2 separate regions of the Homo sapiens genome follow, and region 1 is linked to region 2. The links are contacts of gene promoters, found by promoter capture Hi-C in blood cells and fetal thymus (Javierre and others, 2016). All regions are on one chromosome and are shown on one strand. Each heading gives the region's core, a stretch centred on a gene start or on the middle of the fragment in contact. The rest is flanking DNA. Distances are from core to core; before and after follow the strand shown.

Evidence for each region. Contacts are between HindIII fragments. The CHiCAGO score rates a contact against its expected background, and 5 or more counts as called.
Region 1: a contact is called between a fragment that was not itself captured here and the fragment with the promoter of RGSL1 in region 2, in 8 of 17 cell types (M1 macrophages, M2 macrophages, M0 macrophages and 5 more). The highest score is 15.0, in M1 macrophages.

What each region holds. Positions count from the first base shown.
Region 1 is chr1:182,766,997-182,772,243 of GRCh38, reverse strand. No RefSeq gene overlaps it. Among named protein-coding and RNA genes, the nearest start is that of NPL, 20 kb to the left of the region's middle. The HindIII fragment of the contact is 462 bases long and covers 1,723-2,184 here.
Region 2 is chr1:182,447,140-182,452,734 of GRCh38, reverse strand. RGSL1 (regulator of G protein signaling like 1) reads right to left here and starts at 2,589. Exons shown (of 22, transcript NM_001137669.2): 1 at 2,557-2,589. The coding sequence starts at 2,569. RefSeq lists an enhancer at 2,144-2,751. The HindIII fragment of the contact is 4,233 bases long and covers 1-3,336 here.

The DNA of each region.
Region 1 (5,247 bases), core at 704-3,203, 320 kb before region 2:
AGTGAGGATTGCATATAGGAAAGGCCTCTGAGAAACATCAAGCACCTTACACACACAGGCATTATTCTCTTCCCCTATCACAAGCACCAGCCTTGAAAACCTAGCATAATGTTTGGAGTTCCAGAAGAAAAGGAACAATCCATTTAAACGATAAAAAGAACAAATAAAATACGCATGAGGAAACAATATGACCATAATGTATTGAAAAGTTATAAGTGCAATATTACTTTAACTCATTGGGATAGAAGACAACCAAGAATGCATTTTTATTCCATCCCGATCACCTATTTGACAAGCTAGTTGTTCCACCATTATATTATCCTCAATATGCAATCAAGATATTTGCATTTCTGCTATAATATGACTTTTGAATATATTCATTTGAGACTACAGATAAGGCTGATTCAAAATTCTCTGGCATATTACAGTTATTCTTAGTTTAAAAAACAAAAAAACCCCCAAAAACCCTCAAGATACTTCATTGTCAGATCTCCGTGTGGTAGGAATGTGCAGTTGATATACTAAGATTTTTTGGCTTTTTGTTTTTTCTCCCTCCTCATGGTGTATCTTTTCAGTGTTTCCCATCTAGTACTTATGTATATGGTCAAATTTTCATTTTTGTGGCATTTGTAGTGGAGAGTGATGGCTGGAGGAATCTTGAGTCCTGTGGACCTCAGTCAGAGGTGTGCTCATAAGCAAGCTCCTGGAGACAGAGAAGAAAAGACACCCTGATTTGTAGCATTTGTCAATTACCATGAGGTAAACACTTCTACCAGGGCCAATTTCAAGGAGGTGGGAAGAGACGTGTGCAGTCAGCTCTTGCTAGGTGGGGATAGCAGCTCCAGCAGTGCACCACAGGCGGTTTGCATTTTTAACACTTGAGCCTAACATAAGAAAGTTCCTCATAGGCTGTAAGTCACACTGTGTGGGTTTACATAGTGCCTCCCAAAAGCAGATTCCTAAGCAAATTCCTAGTAAGTTTTGTCTCATGAAAGCCTCCAATTCTGTTGCCCACCCTCACTTCTTAAGAACCTGCTAATTTAAATCAAAAGGAGGCAGAGACATCCCTTTCAGCCCTCAAGTGGAGAAGATGGAAAGACCTTGTTCAGAGTGGGAACCCTTTCTGTGAATTACTGTGTGAAGGGGCCTTTCTAACAACACAGGATAAATTTTTACATTCATAGTGTGCTTCACAGTTTTCTTTGTTTCAGTCTCCATTTTATTTTATTTTATTTTATTATTTTTTTTTTTGAGATGGAGTTTCGCTCTTGTTGCCCACACTGGAGTGCAATGGCGTGATCTTGGCTCACTGCAACCTCTGCCTCCCAGGTTCAAGTGATTCTCCTGCCTCAGCCTCCCGAGTAGCTGGGATTACAGGCATGTGCCACCACACCTGGCTAATTTTGTATTTTTAGTAGAGACGGGTTTTCTCCATGTTGGTCAGGCTGGTCTTGAACTCCCGACCTCAGGTGATCTGCCCGGCTCAGCCTCCCAAAGTGCTGGGATTACAGGCATGAGCCACCACATCAGGCTGGGTCTCCATTTTAAAGAGGAGAAAGTGCGCTCATCAAATGAAGAACTGAGACTTGATTGTTCAGATTCCAAATCTGGTGGCTTCCCTGCTGCTCCATGCTGCCTTTCCAAGGTGGCTGGAGCCTTCCCTGACTCCCCCTCCTGCAATTCAACTCAGACAGGATGTTTTCTTTTCACTGCCAGTAAGCTTCTTATTTTATCATCCTTTCTTACTTTCACAAGGGGATGTTCCCTTGGCCTTCAATGAACTTGCTATTTTCAGTGTCTCCTTGGATCACTTTCTTGCCAAAACCCTTCTCTGATTGCAGATTGACCGTGACTAGCCACTGGGAGATCTCTTCTGGGAGCTGCGACATGTCCCATATCCCAGCAATGCTGGAGGGATGCACTGCTGGAGAGCTGCCTAAGGAAACTCTAAGAGTCCACTCTATAGATGACACATGCTGGGCCAAGACACTGCTGTCCCAGCAAGGATATTTATCCACTCTATTAACAGGGATAATAATGAATTTTTATGATACCAGTGATTATTGTACAGTCTCTGAGATAACTGAAAACCTTACCTTGTTTGGCTTTAGAAGCAGCCACAGAAATAGCCATTGCTCGACAGTTTCATACAAGGAGGGGAAAATACTGACTTCATGAGAAGCTTGAAAAGTTTAAATGACATTTAATTAATGATTTCATACATTAACCAAATATTTGTTGTGCATCTGCTATGTTCACAGCTCTGTTGTAAGGCTTGAAAACTCTAAAGGTAAGATGGGCTGGGTGTGGTGGCTCATGCCTGTAATCCCAGCACTGTGGGAGGCCGAGGTGGGCAGGTCATCCGAGGTCAGGAGTTCCAGACCAGCTTGGCCAACACGGTGAAACCCCATCTCTACTAAAAATACAAAAATTAGCCAGGCGTGGTGGCATGCGCCTGTAGTCTCAGCTACTCAGGAGGCTGAGGCAGGAGAATCGCTTGAACCTAGGAGGTGGAGGTTGCAGTGAGCTAAGATCACACAACTGCACTCCAGCCTGCGCGACAGAGTGAGACCCTACCTGAAAAAAAAAAAAAGGTAAAATGACTGCCTTTGTATTTCCTATAGTTCTGAGTAGTGGCAAGGGAGACATACACACTAACCTTTATAACTGAATGTGATACATATTACAGTAGAGACGAGTACAAGCATGGAGAAGGAGGTGCATAACCCTGCCCAGGGGAATGAACAAACCTTCAGGTTTCTGTGAAACTGGTGCTAGGACTTGAAAGACAATAATGACACAACTTATGTAATGCTCACTCTGTGCCAGAAGTGCCCTATTCTATGCATTTTCCGAATATTAAGCTATTTATTTTTTTCCAAAGCCCCACAAGGTTGGTGTAACCATCATCCCTATAGGAAACTGATTAACAGGGAAGTTAAATAACTTTGCCCATTGTCACTCAGTCTGGGAAATATGGAGCTGGGATTTGAATTCAACTACTAATCTCTGCACTATACAACTATGACTCACTGGGATTAAGGGGCTGGGTGAAATGGGAGGTGTGGAGGACGTTCCATGCTCAGGGAACTGTATAAAGATCTGAGAAAATATGGCATGTTTGTGGCTTTTGTTCTGAATTTCAGTGGGAAGGCAACATAGAGGGACTGATGATAAATACATGCTTCATTTTTCTTTCATCATAGGAGTTTTTCTGGAGAATATTTGGAAAATGATTTATCAACACAATTTCTTGAAATTGGAGCGTTTTCAAATGGCTGCTGTCCAGCTGGTCATCCTGTTGAGTTGTTGGCTGAGGGTTATTTTATTTGTTTTTTTTTTTGTTTGTTTGTTTTTGACATGGAGTCTTGCACTTTGGCCAAGGCTGGAGTGCAGTGGCGCGATCCCGGCTCACTGCAACCTCCGCCTCCCGGGTTCAAGCAATTCTCCTGCCTCAGCCTCCTGAGTAGCTGGGATTACAGGCGTCTGCCACCATGCCCAGCTTATTTTTTGTATTTTTATTAGAGACAGGGTTTCACTATGTTGGCCAGGCTGGTCTTGAACTCGTGACCTTGTGATCCACCCACCTCAGCCTCCCAAAGGCTGAGGGTTATTTTAAATATATCCCCAGAAGAAAGACAACAAATTTATTGATTTTCCATGATTCCCAGAATTGACTTATTCTAATGCTACCTGAGGCCAAAAGTGAAAGATTGAGTGCCACAGAAAACAGCATTTCCAGAATAATTTTTTTTGGGTATAACCATAACCTATATTCTTCATTATGGTCAAAGTTTTTGCTAATGTTGACTATTGGTCACCAAGTGGGACAGTAGACATGACTCCATGTAGCACCTTGCTAATGCCTCAGGGTATGTGAGAAGTACCTGAATGTATGTGTCTTTTTTTTTTTGAGATGGAGTCTCGCTCTGTTGCTCAGGCTGGAGTACAGTGGCATGCGATCTTGGCTCACTGCAACCTGCACTTCCCAGGTTCAAGTGATTCTCCTGCCTCAACCTTCTGAGTAGCTGGGATTACAGACGTGCATCACCACGCCCAGCTAATTTTTGTATTTTTTTAGTAGAGATGGGGTTTTGCCATGTTGGCCAGGCTGGTCTCGAACTCCTGACCTCAGGTGATCTGCCCGCCTTGGCCTCCCAAAGTGTTGGGATTACAGGTGTGAGCCACTGTGCTTGGCCTGAATATATGTGTCTTAACAGCAAAAACAAGGTGTGGCAAAATTTGGTCTGGAACAGCACCTAAATAGAGAATAATCTGGTCATTTTCTTGTATAATCTTCTGCTCTTGATGGACCAGAGGGTAAGACAATCATTCATTCATTCATTCATTCATTCAGCATTTTCTAAGTGCTTACTATAATAAAATCTAGTAATAACAGTTAACGTTTAACAGAAAGCCTACAATGTGACAGGCACTGTGCTAAACACCTTAAAATGAACGCAACTACTCCTCACTAACCCCCTGAAGTAAGAGTAACATTATCCCCAGATAAGAAAACAGGGGGATTAGGAAACTTGCTCCATGTCACATAACTGGCAGAGCTTAGTTTCCATCCCAGACAGTCTTAGCTAAGAACCTGTGCTCTCAACCACTGTGCCATGTCATTTCCCTATGTCCAAGGTTCTGAAGTAGGCCTGGTTAGGAATGCAAATAACAAACTGTAATTACAAACTGTAATTAAGTCAGAATGGAACAGACATAGAGAACTGGTTCTTAGATGTTTGCCCGCTGAAACATGTACCAGCTGATATGCTTGCATGAGATGCATTCTCTGTGGCAACACTAGCACTGTCATTGATCCACCCTTTCCCCTCCACTTTTTGCCCTAGGAAAGCATACTGAAATGCACGTAATACATGTGAGTAAGAGTGACAATATTGTAGGAATGACATTGAATCAGTACTCATTTATGAAAGTGATGTATCCTTTGCACATTTTTGTATAAGATGATAGTGGTTATAAGTCTTAGTACACAAATGAAGGCATTCAAGAAATATAACTTTTTTTTTGCTTTTATAAATCAACTTCATTTTGGCTCTGGACACCCAGCCTTTTGAGCTGGCAGGAAATTTAGTCTCTGCCATTTTGGGCTGATCTCCCTCATGCCCTGTGAACGTGTGCCAAGATCTGGGTCTTACGCAGGGCCAACATATTGTATTGCACAATTATCTACATTGATTCCACTGAGACTGCTGTGGTCTTTCACTTTCCCTTTGGCTCTTGGAA
Region 2 (5,595 bases), core at 1,340-3,839:
ATGCCTATAATCCCAACACTTTGGGAGGCTGAGGCTGGTGGATTGCTTGAGGCCAGGAGCTCAAGACCAGGCTGACCAACATGATGAAACCCTGTCTCTACTAAAAATACAAAAATTAGCCAGGCATAGTGGCGGGAGCCTGTAATCCCAACTACTTGGGAGGCTGAGGCAGGAGAATCGCTTGAAGCCAGGAGGTGGAGGTTGCAGTGAGCCGAGATCGCACCACTGCACTCCAGCCTGAGTGACAGAGTGAGACTCTGTCTCAAAAAAAAAAAAAAGGAAACCCAGATAAACACTATTGTGAGTGACAGAGCTGGTATCAGCACTTGCCCTCTGTTCACATACATCTTTTTTCTTGCTGTCAAGTGCTATGTGTGTTTTATGTGTACCCCTCCCAAGCCCTCTGCTCTTCTTTTTATAAGCAGTCCTTGATTTATTTAATCTATTCCATATGGGTGATTCCAAAATCTGTGTTTTCAGTCCAGGCTTCTCTCCTTCACTCTGGTTTTAAATATACATGAGCTATGGGCCAGCTCTACATGCATATCCATCAGGCACTTTCATCTCAACATGTTCAATGTGTCCAGGCCTCCCAACCTGCTCCTTTTCCTACATTCCCAGTCCCAGTTACTGGAATTATCATTCAATAAATTATCTAATCCTGAAAACTGAGGCTCTTCTCTCTGTCTCTGTCCCTGTCTCTCACTCTCACTCTCACTCTCAATCTCTCTTACTCTTGCTCTTACTCTCTTGTTCTCTCTCTCTCCCCTCCATGTCCCTACATGCAATGGGGGATCATGCTGTATGGTTTCTCTTTGTACCTATCTCTGGAATCTGTCTTCTCCTTTCCATCCATAAAGTTACTCTTCCATTACAGGCCTCTATGCTCTCTCACCTAGACTTCTGCATCAGCTTCTTAAATGGTCTCCCTAGCTCCCACCTCTTGCCCTTCCAACCACCCTACACGTACTGCCACCATAATCTGTTGATATTATTATTGTTAAAGTCTTTCAAAATCTCCTTGATGTCCTAGAAGGTAAAGTCCAAACTCTCTAGTATAGTATCTGAGGCTTTACCCCATCTGGCTTTTGAGTTTCCTCCCAGTCTCATTTCCTGCCTCTCTGCGCACTCTGCCTCCTGTTTGCAAGCTAAGCCAAGGCATTGCTGTTTCCTGCATGTGCTAGGTACTCTCACTTGAAACCTCCATGTCTTTGTTCCCATATTCCCATTGCTTCAAATGTTTTCTTAAGCACAGTCAGCTCACAAATTAATAGTCATCCATTAAGAACTGGTTTACATATAATCTTGGTGAGCCAAGAAAGGTAGAATCTACTGCAATGGTAGAATTCATCACTATCTCCCTATACCATCACGTATATCCTCCATTATTACAATTAACAAGTCTGACTGTTTTTATCCATCGATATATCTGTCTTCCTCATCAGACTGAGCGTGTGAGAGGAGGGACTTTGTTTTTTCACCTTTCTTCCTCTAGGCTCTAAAAGTGTTTGCACAATGTCTAAGTTCTGTAAATGTGGAATAAATTGTTCTTTCAAAAGATAATCTTCAATCTTTTTTTTTTTTTTTTTTTGCCAAAGTCTCACTCCGTCACCCAGGCTGGAATGCAGTGGCAAGATCTCAACTCACTGCAGACTCTGCCTCCCAGATTCAAGTGATTCTTGTGTCTCAACCTCTCCAGTAGCTGGGATTACAGTGCATGCCACCACACCTGGCTAATTTCTGTATTTTCAGTAGAGATGGGGTTTTACCATGTTGGCCAGGCTGGTCTTGAACTCCTGACCTCAGGTAATCCACCTGCCTCAGCCTCCCAAAGTACTAGGATTACAAGGGTGAGCCAACGCTCCCAGCCAATGATTTTCAATCTTTTGGACTTTTGTTTGTTTATCATTCATAGAGTCTAACATGGATTTGTTGAATGAGTATATTACTGAGCCCATCTGAATACAGAAAAGTGGGGTTTGGCAGAAATTCCCTAGTGATTGTTGTTCACAGCTACACACACCGCTGGTGGCAAGGGGCCTGACTATGCTAGGGCTTGCCATTGCCAAAACAGTCTTAAGGAGATATAGAGACAAGGCTCTGTACATCCTTCCCTTCCTCATCCTCTCATTTCTCCATTCTTGTTTTTCCTTCTTACCTGTTCTGCCTTCAAACTTCCTAATAATTTGAGAAGGCTTTTAGCACCCATTCCACGCCATAATAATATTGACTTGGCAACAAATGAAATCACTGCATAATCTCAAACCCCATACCAGTCTTCTCTCTGGAGGAGAGGTGGCCCAATCCACATTTTACTTCCTCCCTCTTGCCTTAGTTGTCTTATGAATAAGGCCCTGTACTATCCTCAAAGATCTGGTGGCAGAAGGTAGGAGGAAGGGGAAGAAGGAGAAAGAGAAGGAAAACAAAGGCATGAATAACACAAAAGTCACCCATGGTGCCCCTGAATGGCTCAGATCTATTAACAATTGGGAAGATGAATGGTTTGCCTTATTTGAGAGACTCAAGGCCTTGGAGACATCCCTGGCAGAGACTCACCAGCACTGCTCATGTTGCCATGCTCTTCCTGACACAGTAATTTGTTAGGGGCAGAATTACCCCCCAGTCAATAGAACTATATCCATTGTGAACACGTAATGACACCTTCTCTAAGGGGTTCCAGATTCTATCTGGCAGTGATCTACTTACCTCTGGTGTAGGCCTTAATCTGAAGATAAGTCTTTATCTTACCTAATCTGCTGAATCCCCTTGGACATACAAGACTCCTCCTATACTTAAGCCTTTAGTTCATACTATTTTATTTGACAAGTTCTTTATAATTGTGCCCAAGATCTCTTGTCTGCTCCAACCTCTCCCATGCTAGGGTGACTTTTGCATTGCTAAACTCAGCTCCTAAGGGTCTTGTAAACGGTTACATTTGATGTAATTTTAATAAGCAGTAACTCCTGGATATTCTGCCCATTTAAAACATCAACCTCCATTGCTTCAGCCCAGGAATTCAAGGCTGCTGTGAGCTGTGATCACACCACTGAACTTCAGCTTGGGCAACAGAGTGAAACCTCATCTTTAAAAAATTAAAATTAAAACATCAGCTTCCAAGAGGTTTGAACTCCCTTCCTCTGAAGACTCTTCAGGCTCTTGGTTTTCTCATTAAACAACTCTTCATTTCTCCTGTTCTTCCCTAATAGGAAGTAAATATTAAGATGAGAGACCAAAAGCCCTATAATCCTTCAAACTTTAGCCAAGAATTACTGAGAATAGAATTCTTCAGTGTCACACCCAGAGAGGGCTTTTAAGTCTTGGGATTGTAGGGAAGCTTATATAATGTCCAAAAGGCTTTCCTATGGGGGGTGGAGGGAAAACTGAAAACTGGAAGGATTATTGTTAATAATGAATCGTCAATACAATATCACTTACATTTGAAAAAGTGCTGTACTTTCTTTAGAATATATAAAGACCAAATACTGCATTTTAAAGTGATTTTAGTGAGAAGAGATTCTTGCTTTACATCTTGATGTTCTATGTATTGCAAGATGAGATTGTAGCTTACCATACTTCTTCAATCTGTTATCAATTACCTTATTCACCTTATTAATTAGTCAGTTTAACATGCACACATCTTAAGAGAGTTCAGTGTGAAGCACTGCATGATTCTACAATATCATATTATTCCTTGAATTATCACCTCTTTTGCAAAATAAATAGAGTCAAGGTCTCCTCCTAAAATAATGGCATATACAGTAGTAATATATGCTCACATTCCTTAAGATGGAATGCTTTCAGACTGTTTTCAATCAAGCTGTGTGCACCTACCCTTGAGTCCTAATTGCTGCCCCACCGTCTTTCCCACAGTTCAAAAAGGCTGACTGTTGGAGCCATTAACAACCAAATAGGGTCACTCTAAAAACAGTAAAGATGAAAAGCCAGTATCACTGGCTAAATCTTGAAATGCATAATGGTTAGATCCCTGACCCTTTCATGACCTTCTAGTTCCCAAAAGAAAAGGGCACCAGATGTCTCCCAAATGTGTGGTAATAAGAATTACCTTATTGACAGGGTTGTTGTTAAAAACCTAAATTGCCGGGACCGTCCCCTGGCAATTCTGATTTAGAAGGGGTGGGGCTCAGGAGTCTGTATATTTTCCAAGTGCCCCCAGATAATTATTATCATCAGGTAAATATAGAAAATATTGGGGCCAGATGCAGTGGCTCACGTCTGTAATCCCAGCACTTTGGGAGGCCAAGGTGGGTGGATCACTTGAGGACAGGAGTTAGAGACCAGACTGGCCAACATGGGGAAACCCCTTCTCTACTAAAAATACAAAAAAATTATCCAGATGTGGTGTTGCGCACCTGTAATCCCAGCTACTCAGAAGTCTGAGGCACAAGAATTGCTTGAATCTGGGAGGCAGATTTTGCAGTGAGCTGAGATCGTGCCATTCCACCCCAGCCCGGGCAACAGAATGAGACTCTGTCTCAAAAACAAACAAACAAACAAACAAACAAACAAACAAACAAATAAATTGGTTTCTAAATGAAATAGAGCTGCATTCACATCTCAGATCTGACATTTACTAGATCTGATCTGGTTTGCAAAACTCTGGGCATCTCCTTTTCCCAAGTGCACAGTTACCCTGGAAATGACAGCAGGTCTCTTTGGCAAAGATTAAGAAGAATATTCACCGTAAATACTTGCAAAATATTACAAGATTCTTCCTAACTGGTAAAATGCTTTTTTTTTTTTTTTTAAATTTCAGAGCTTCTAGGTCTGACTCAGGGCTGAAAATTGGATGAGGGACCTGATTTTCTACCATGATGGCTCATTTTAGGCTCCTGTTCATTCACTCAACAAATATTTATTGGGCAGGTCTATGTGACACAAACTGTTCTAGGTGTTTGTGATGCAACACTGAATAAACAGTCTAAAATCCTTGCCATCACAGAGCTTATACTTTCCAGTAGAATCTTATTGAATGAACACACATTTTTTAAGGACCCCATGATCAATAACCACTATAAAGAATCTGTGGGTTAGATCATTCAGATATCCACACAGGCTCAACTGCCTATTATGATAACTACGCTTATTTTGTTTTTGATGGTTAACACGACCTCCAGTAGAAATAAGAACCAATTTCAACTACAACACATCTTTTTCAGCATTTGTGGTTGTCCCCATTGTGCCACTACTGCTAGCACCACCGCTATTGAGTGTTTGTTGTCATAGGCACTGCCATGCATAACCTCTCATTGCTCCTGAGCTTCTGAGTCTTCCTTCAAGATGAAAAGTTTTGGGCTGGTCATGGTAACTCATGCCTGTAATCCCAGCATTTTGGGAGGCTGTGGCAGGTGGATCGCTTGAGTCCAGGAGTTTGAGACCAGCCTGGGCAACATAGTAAGACCCTACCTCTATTAAAAAATGATTTTTAAAATTAAATGTGTATATATTCTATATTTAATTATATATCATATATTTAATTTTAAAGATTAAATGTATATATCATATATTTAATTTTAAAGATTAAATGTATATATCATATATTTAATTTTAAAGATTAAATGTATATATCATATATTT